Linked DNA regions of Homo sapiens: region 1 is linked to region 2. Evidence: promoter capture Hi-C in human tissues and cell types (Jung and others, 2019). All regions are on one chromosome and are shown on one strand. Each heading gives the region's core, a stretch centred on a gene start or on the middle of the fragment in contact. The rest is flanking DNA. Distances are from core to core; before and after follow the strand shown. Region 1 has its middle 19 kb from the start of WDR19. Region 2 holds the start of FAM114A1 (family with sequence similarity 114 member A1).

Region 1 (4,609 bases), core at 1,230-3,729, 300 kb after region 2:
TTATGTCTATTACCTTGATTGTGTTGATAGTTTTACAGGTATGTGCATATGTCCAAACTCAGCAATTGTATGTGTAGTTTATTATATATCAACTATACCTCAATAAAGTTGTTTTCTTAAAAAGCAAAGTTATCTTTCTACAACACATATCCAATCACATCCCTCTCCTCGAAAACCTTCAGTTGAAGACATGTAGTCCAGACTTCTCAGCATGACATACAAGGTCCTTCCAGCCTCAGCTCCCACAGGCCTGCATATTAGAAAAGGCATCAATCATGGAAAATGCCAGGACTTTCATATCGCCATGCCTTTGTTTAGATTGTTCTCTCTCTGGAATACCCATTCTAATCTCTTTTCCATCCAACCAAACCCTACTCGTTCTTCAAAGCCCATATCTTCAACATTATAAGCTTTTCCTGATTCTTTCCACATACCCTCAATCCATTGATATTAAACCCGTCCTATGCTCCACACTTCCTTCACACCTCAGTAACAGCAATAGGATTGAAGTACAGTTCGATGTAGAGCAAGGCACTTGATAAATGCTCAGAAAATGTTTGTTAAATGAGAGCATTGATTTTAAAATAATTTTGTGGGGTTTTTTTGTTTTTATGAGACAAGGTCTCACTGCAGTCACCCAGGCTGGAGTGCAGTGGCATGATCTTGGCTCACTGCAACCTCCACCTCCTGGGTTCAAGCGATTCTCCCACCTCAGCCTCCCAAGTAGTTGGGACTACAGGCGTGACCCACCACATCCAGTTAATTTTTTCTTTTCCTTCCTTCCTTCCTTCTTTCTTCTTTTTTTTTTTTTTTTTGGTATTTTTTGTAGAAATGGGGTTTCGTCATGTTGCCTAGGCTGGTCTTGAACTTGTGAGCTCAAGTGATCCACCAGCTTCGGTCTTCCAATGTGCTGGGACTACAGGCATGAGCCGCCACACCCAGCCCACCCAGCTAATTTTTAAATTTTTTTGTAGAGGCAGGGTCTCACTATGCTGCCCAGGCTGGTTTTAAATTCCTGGGCTCAAGCAATCCTCCTGCCTTGGACTCTCAAAGGGCTGGAATTACAGGCGTGAGCCACTGCGCCCAGCCTGAAACTTTTTATTATGAAAACGTTCAGGCATACATAAGAATAGACACAATAGTATAATAAATTCCCATGTGATTATCCCCCAGCTTTAACAATTATGAACATTTTACTCCGATCTTGTGTAATCTCTATTGCTTCCTGTCATCACTGTCTGGATATTCTCCTCCATACATTTTCTTTTTTGAAGAAATTGCATCTGTCATTTTTCAACCTAGAAAATGTTTTTTATTAGTTTGATGGGTATTATACCTTTATTTTTATCAAGATTTATTGCGATATACATGAATTATAATGTTGAAATAAAAAACAATTTCAACCTTGAACTTCTCGTTGCTTAATAACAGTAACAACATTACCTCACCTATTACTTATTGAGTGCCTACTATAGACCACGCATGGCTAGCAACCATCATATATGTTATCTCATCTTTTTAACAACCCTCTAAAGTGGATATTATTAGCTGTATTATAGACAAGAAAAGTGAAGCTGAGAAAGTTATTTCCAAGTTATTAAAGGATTATTACTGAGTTCAGATCAGTTTGTCTGTGTTTTCCACTCTACCTCATTACCTCTAAATATCCCTTCCCTTATATCTACCTACTGAAATCTTCTTATCTATTCTGTCAGCCTAACGAGAAAAAACAGAATACATAATAAAAATCAGAAAATGAGGCAGTAATCAGGGTCCCTAATTTTAAAATTATAAAATGATATAAGACAATAAAATTATATAAAATATCAAATGCATCTTGCAGCTTAAAAATAATAAACTGAAAAGTGACTTTCAGAAGGCATATAATAGGAAAAGATTTGTTGCTTCATAAACAATCAATATTAAAAAATACATGCTGTTTTTCATATAACTCATATGACAAAAAGTGAATGGGATTTTGGAAACAATTATCTAGGGATCAGTGACCTCAAAGTGTGCTCCCTGGACCAGCAAAATCAGCATCAGCCAGGAACTGCAATTTGAAATGCAAATAAGTTGACTTATTTGTTATGAGAAAACTAAAAATCTATTTAAGATTATATGCTTTTTTATTGCTCGATACTGAACAGCATAATAAATGTGTTAAATTTTTTATTTGACCTAAATAAACGTGTTAAATATACACATATACCATATTCATAAATACATAGTAAAATAGATATACATAGGGGCAAAAACCAGAAGGAAATATGCAAAAAAAGTAATATACATTGATAATTGGATTTTGTTTTCTTTTCTCTTTCTTTTTAACTGATTAAATTGTCTCTAAAACTAAATTCCATAAACATTTTTATTCCTATTTTATACATGGGAGCACAGGTTCAGAGGAGATAATTTTCCCAAGGTCAAAGAATCAGTAAGTTCCATGAACTGGGTTTAAAGTAGAGGTTCATGACCAAGTTCAATTTGCTATTACACCATGTGGTCCTTAAGCAAGTCTTATCATTTTACAATAGAAACACTTAAAATATAAATATGTATTGTAAGGCAATGCACAAAAATAAATTTTTTAAGAACCCAAATGTGATGTTTAATATCATGTTTAAAGATCAAATGTGCAATGGTCATTATCTACCAGCTTCGTTTAGTTACTAGGTTTTTGCAATGTTGAAAAAATTATGTTCACAAGCTTGAAAAATGTCTCAGCCAATTTCTTGAAAATATGTTAAATTGACCATATTATTATGGTCAATTTATTATTATGTAATTTTTATTTATTATGTAATATTTATCAAACTTGAGGTAAAAGTGAATAGTAAAAATGAAAAACTAAGATAGTAGAATTTTATAATATAATAAAAAAGATAACAATGGGTATAGTATATCAGTAAGTTCTAGCATTCCTAAAAGACTTCCAAAAAAAGTCCTTTGGTAGGACTAAGGATTGTTGAGTGGGCAATATTAATCATAAGGAAAATGATTAAGAAGAGGGAGAAATGTAAGGTTAGTTAATAAAAATAGAATAAAGTCAGTGAAAGTAGGGGAATTATGTAAGTTACTAAGACCTTATAGAAAACAAAAAAACAAAATCTAACCAAAAAAAAAAAAAAAAAGACAGAATAAAGAGGAGACTAATGTGGAATGTTTACATTCTTGCCTCTACCAGAATTCTAGGCCAAAAGTAGAGCATCAGTTTGACTTTCTGGAAAGATTTCTTCTGAGACTGAATTAATTGATATGGTTTGGCTGTGTCCTCACCCAAATCTCATCTTGAATTGTTACTCCCACAATTCCTACGTGTCGTGGGAGGGACCCAGTGCCAGTGAAAGGTAATTGAATCATGGGGGCGGGTCTTTCTGGTGCTGTTTTCATGATAGTGAATAAGTCTCACGCGATCTGATGGTTTTATAAAGAGGGGTTCCCCTGCACAAGCTCTCTCTCTGCCTGCCGCCATCCACTGAAGATGCGACTTGCTCCTCCTTGCCTTCTGCCATGATTGTGGGGCCTCCCCAGCCCTGTGGGACTGTAAGTCCATTAAACCTCTTCTTCTTCCCAGTCTCGGGTATGTCTATATCAGCAGCATGAAAACGGATTGATACACTAAATAAATATAAGGTGTCCTGGCCATAGGACCCCCTCCTGAGTATAATAAAAATATATGTGGTATTTTAACACAATTAGGAGGTAGCAAGCTCTCTACCCCGGGTGAAGGTCTGGAGAGGAGTTTGGGCTGAGTTTAGTATAAAAGAAGATCTGCATCTTATACCATATGTAAAAACTAATTCTATATTAAAGACTTAAGTGTAAAAAAATTAAAATCATTCAATAAAGTCTCCTATAAACAGATAAAAACTTCAAAGCCAAGACTAGAAACCAAGTAGCTATTTTTAAAATAGACATGTTTAACTACACAAGAATATGAAAAAGAGCTCTTACAAATTGACAATAAAAAAAGAAAAACAACTCCATAAAGTTAGATAGCAGAAGAACAAATTGAAATAGCCAACAAACATATGAAAAGTGTTCAAATTCATTAGCTCTCAGGGAAATGCAAGTTAAAGTAAGAATGAAACTTTATTCCTATCAGACTAGCAAAAATTAAGAGAACCTATGAAAATTGTTGATCGTTTCTGGTGAGAAAGTGAAGGAAAAGTACTTTCATAAGTTGCTAGTGGGAGCATTAAGCATTATAATCTTTTTGAAAATCACTCTGATAAATCTATTAAAATTAAAAATACATATACTCCTCAGCCCAACAATTCTACTCATGGGAATTTATTCCAAAGAAATAAAAGTATGATTATGTTAAAAATATCTATAAGGACCTCAATGTTCTAGTAGCAAAACCCTGAGCATAAAGTGGATGCCACAGGGGAAAGATGAAATGGGATTTGGAGGAATATCCAGAAGATATTATTGAATGAGAAAGGTAAGATACAGAAAAAAAAAAATGTGTATACATTACCATTTGTTCAACAGTGCCACAAAAACACCATTACATATATGGATACACACACACAAACACATATACATGTGTGTGCCACATTTATGGTTTATGACCATAGAGGAAAAGTATGGCAGAATTCAT
Region 2 (5,054 bases), core at 1,573-4,072:
TAGGTGACAGAGTAAGACCTCATTCCTAAATAAGAAAGAAAGAAATATGGGTGGGAGGGATATACAACCACCTCAAGAAAATGGCTACCTGCAGAGATGGTGGACAATGGAAGGGATAGGGTTTCAAACATATCCGTAACATTTTTTTCTTTGCAAAGAAAATTCTAAAATAAATACTGCAAAAAATTTTGTTAAATCTAGATATCATCATAGTATTTCCTATATTTTTTACACAAATAAGTATTTGTCATATTATTCTTTACTTTTCTATATATTTTAAATACTCCAGAAAATTTTTAAATGAACTTAAAATGTTTTACATTGCAAATAAATAAAATATCTGAAATAAAATCTGGTAGTCCTGGAAGCAGCTACATGAGTAAAAGGGACAAATTTGCAGTGGGCAAAACAAAAAACAAACTTGTTGCCAGGATAGTTTGCTTTATTTTCTTTATTGGATAGGTGTGGTTTGGGTCAAAGGAGAAGAGGAACTCAGCCCTTTAAAAAGAGAACATCTGATTGGGCTGTTACGGCACAGCAGGGAAGGGAAGGCAGGTTAGCAAAGGTGCTTGCTGTCTCTGGGCAGGAGCAGAAGTCCCAGGCACAGACGTCTGTGTATATGCTACACCAAAACACACCTGTTGCAACTGGAACATAATTTGATAACACTCGCAAAGCCAGAACTGGAAGGGACTGTGCCGAGCAATGCTCTTTATTTTAGAGGTGGAAAAACTGAGTTACAGAAGCCACGTGTTAGTTAAGGTTCAAAGTCTCGCTCAATTCAAAAAGGCTATTGATCTCAATTTAAAGCAGTTTCCACCCACTCTCACATTAAGATAACTTTCTGGTTTTTCTATGAATTTAAAAATGACAGGCTGGGTGTGGTGGCTCACGCCTGTAATCCCAACACTTTGGGAGGCCGAGGTGGGCAGATCACTTGAGGTCAGGAGTTCGAGACCAGCCTTGCCACCATGGCAAAACCCTGTCTCTACTGAAAACACAAAAATTAGCCGGGTGTGGTGGCACGCACCTGTAATCCCAGCTACTCAAGAGGCTGAGGCAGAAGAATCGCTTGAACCCAGGAGATGGAGATGGTGCCACTGCACTGCAGCCTAGGCCACAGATCAAGACTCTGTCCTCCTAAAAAATAAAATAAAATAAATATTCAGTAGCTTAAAAAATTATTAATATAAAAATATTTAATAAAAATATTAAATAAGAAATATAGCCAGGCACGGTGGCTCATGCCTGTAATCCCAGCACTTTGGGAGGCCGAGGTGGGTGGATCACCTGAGGTCAGGAGTTCGAGACCAGCCTGGCCAACATGGTGAAACCCCGTCTCTACTAAAAAATACAAAAATTAGCCGGGTGTGGTGGCACGCACCTGTAATCCCAGCTACTCAAGAGGCTGAGGCAGGAGAATTGCTTGAACCCAGTAAGCAGAGGCTGCAGTGAGCTGAGATCACGCCACTGCTTTCCAGCCTGGACGACAGAGCAAGACTCCATCTCAAAAAAATGAATTAATAAATTAATTAATATATATATGGAAGAAACTGGAATATAAGGAGCAAACTAATTGTCAATAGGAGAATGATTGAATGAAATATAATTACAAACATATTGCAATATATAAGACAAGTCTTAGAAGAGTGGTTTTGGTTGATATGTATTGACCAAGAAAGATGATTATAATATATAATAAATAGGGGGAAATTTACAAAATACGTCAACATCTCGCCATTTTTATAAAAAAGCAAACAAAAAGCTGTTTATGCATACATGTATTTATATAAGCTTAGAAAAACTATGGTAGGATCCACACACTATAAAAAATGGTAGTGATATTGAAAGGGAGAGACTAGGGCTATTTTTTCTTTAACTTTGAATTTATAATTCTTCAAAAAGAAGAAGGGATGGAGTGAGAGAGGAGAAAATCTGCCTTAAACACATCGCTCAGAAAGAATCACTATTTTTAAATTGTATTTCCTCCGACTTTTATAGAAAATACAAAATTGTTTACAAAACTAGTTAATACTATAAACACTGCGCTTCCTCCGCATCTGAGTTCATATTAAGCCATATTTGAGGAAGGCCTTCATATGTGGCCTTCCCTCCATGTCAACGAATCCTCATTTTTAAGGGCTACAACATATTCGATGTCTGAAGTTACTGTAGCTTACTTCACCAATCTTACTGGGGGACATTGAGATTGTCTCCGGCTTCCCCCCGCAGAAACAACTACAACAAACATCCTTGTACATACATATTTGCCCATTTGACTGCCTACTTAGGACAAATTCACAAATGTGGAATTCCTAGGCCAAAGCTAATACATCGGAGTTTTAACCCACAGCTCCAAACTGGCCTTCTGGAAAGTGGGTTTTCGTTGTTTGTTTGGGGTTTGTTTGTTTTAAATCTATCACACTCCCACCGACAGGGCAAGGGAGTGCTGCTTAACGCAGAATCAGGAGATCAAACTTTAGCTGAATTTGAGCGACCTCTTCCCAGTGACACGGCGGGGGGTTTTCCAAGCCCTTTTAAGGAAAGGAAAGGGATCTGGCGAACCCCGAGACCCACCCGCCCTGGGCTGGAGAGGCGGCGCGCTCTGGCTTTCCGCGCTGGCACAGGGGTGGGACAAGCCAAGTTTCCAGGAGACTCGCCCAGCGCGGGCCCGGCCCTCGCAGCGTGGGGGTGGCCGGGCGTCCCCGCGGCGCTCCTCGTGGGGCGGGGCGCAGGCGGGGCGGGGCCCCCTCTCCAGCCGCCCGCCCTCCGGCCGCGTCCCCGCCGGCCCTGCAGACGTGGCGGGGCGGGACCCGCTGGGCACTCCCGCGCGTACTCGGCCGCCTGAGCGGTAAGAGCCCCGGGCACTCGGTCCCCATCCCCTTCCCCGGGGGGCGGGCGAGCGCGGGGGCGGCTGCCCGGGGGTGGTGGGAACACCATACCTTGGCGCCTCGTCCGGGACCCACGAATCCTGCCCTCTGCGTTAGTGAGAAGCAGTGGTCAGGGAGGACCCGGCTCTGGGGTGAGGGTCTGGGGCGGCGCGGCCGAGGGACCTGCGTGGGTGCGGGCGTGTGAGTGTGTGTGTGTGAGTGTGTGTCGCTCCGGGTCCACGCTCATGCACACACCCACACGCCCACACTCAGGGTCTGCCCCCTCGGCCTGCGTGAACCTCCGCGGAGCCTGCCTGGATCTCCCAAAGTATCCAGTCCTGGCACCAAGCAAGTCTGGAAAAGTGCCCCCAATGGCTCGGGGCCAAGTCAGAGGTGGGCTGCAGGGTCCCCCAGCCCGGGCACGAAGGGAGCAGGTCCCTGTAAGACAGAGGCCTCGTCCCAGGGTGCGCCTGCCCTCGGCCTTGGCACAGGGAGCTCAGGCCTTGACCTCCCCGCTCCCCTCGCCTTACTCCTCCCCCAACAGCCGACCCACGCCCTGCCTGCTCTTCCAGTCCAGCCAACACTCTAAGCAGGCACCGCCTCCACTCGCAGCCCCCGGGATGGGTCCCACTCCCTACCGCAGATCCCCAGGCCCCCTCCACCCAGTCGGCTAGCCCTCGCCTCTGCCATCCGGTGAGTATTTCCAGGCACCTCAGACCAGGCGCCTGAACGTCACTGCCTTTTCTTAAGTAGGAAGACATCTCTCTATGGGCTGTGAGAGCATTACCTATGCCCTACTGATCCCATCATTTCCCATCCTAAACATCTTGAAGGACACAGGCAGGTGGCTTCTTAAATCAGTGTGCTCTGAACTCCCTGTGACCTCAGCCAACCTGTGACAACTGAGAATGAGACAGGCTCTATCCTCAGAGCCTCTTTTTGCCCTCTCTGCAGCCTAGTGGCTCCTTCCCTACCCCACCCATAGGCCTGCGTCCCCGCCCTCCTTTCTTCCATCAAGCCTGAGCTTGGGAAAGAATCTGATAAACTTCTTACATTGTAACCTTTAAGTGAAGGAATGAGACGTTAGGGATGGATTTGAGGCACAAGTGAGACAGTGCAGAAGGAATTTGAGGGTTGGAGGGGGCTTTCTTGAATCTGAGCGATTCAGACCATAAAAGTAAACTTGTCTTTGTTTATTTGACCAGGCTTACATCAAACATGGTTTCTCTTTTATTAATATCAAACACAATGTATTTCAATTCAGTAAATATCTGAGGGACAGAAACCAACCTAGGTGCTGTTGGTCACAGTCTTGGAGGACAGAATGGCAGAAGTAAATACTCCATAAATACATGGAATAGAAATCTGTGCAAAGTGCCAAAAACATAGAAGAGGTAGCAGTTATTTCATTGGAAGCAGTGGGGCAGATTAAGGAAAAATTCAGAATGAAAGGTAACATTAGACACTGGGTGTCTAGAGGAATAGGAGTTTGCCAGGCAGCTGGAGGAAGGGCAGCACCGGGGCAGAGGAACCAGCGTAAGCAAAGGCAGGGAGATGTGAAGAGTTATGGGGAATGGAGAAAAGACTGGTGAGGCAGGAGTGGAGGATACTGAGAGTTGCAAGAGGTGGAGAGAGATTGGAGCTGGATTATGATGGGAAGTGTGAAGATATTTACACCTAATGGTTTTTGAACAGGAGAGCAAATAGGTCCAAAAATGCCTGGCAGCCTCACAGAGAATAGGCTGGAGCCTGGGTACGTAGACTTGTCAAGCTTTATACAAACTCATACAAACTGCTACAACCTGATTAAGAGCCTCTCATCCAGAGTTTTTATTCCTGGTCCTTCGCTGACTGGCACTGTTTTTGTTTTTTTTTTTTAACTGGGGGAGATGACCTCACACAGGATATCATGCTAACCAAATTTTTATGCTGCCAAGTCAGGCCATTTTTTTTAAAAAAATCCATCCACTGTCACTATTTCATAAAATGAAAGACATTTTAATACCAAGAAAAAGCACAAAGGCTAAACTTGAAAGATGAAGGCAGTCCTTTACATTTAATAAATTTAGATTTATGAAAAACTTGCAATCTTGTCCTCATTTTTCTCTATCATCACAGACTTGCCCCAGTCCTGCAGGTGGAGTTTGGAAAAAAAAGCATCCAGATCAGTTTGTCCATCCTAGC

What was found. The method cuts DNA at HindIII sites, captures the fragments that hold promoters and counts their contacts. A contact is called where the count stands out against the background at its distance.
Region 1: a contact is called between a fragment that was not itself captured here and the fragment with the promoter of FAM114A1 in region 2, in 1 of the 25 tissues and cell types used here (H1 embryonic stem cells).

What each region holds. Positions count from the first base shown.
Region 1 is chr4:39,160,816-39,165,424 of GRCh38, forward strand. No RefSeq gene overlaps it. Among named protein-coding and RNA genes, the nearest start is that of WDR19, 19 kb to the right of the region's middle. The HindIII fragment of the contact is 5,116 bases long and covers 1-4,609 here.
Region 2 is chr4:38,864,984-38,870,037 of GRCh38, forward strand. FAM114A1 (family with sequence similarity 114 member A1) reads left to right here and starts at 2,823. Exons shown (of 15, transcript NM_138389.4): 1 at 2,823-2,851; 2 at 3,415-3,563. It overlaps MIR574 (microRNA 574), which reads left to right and starts at 3,049; the gene lies at 3,049-3,144. It also overlaps a transcript of TLR6 not described here. RefSeq lists silencers at 2,587-3,066, 3,117-3,166 and an enhancer at 3,374-3,957. The HindIII fragment of the contact is 6,667 bases long and covers 1-3,217 here.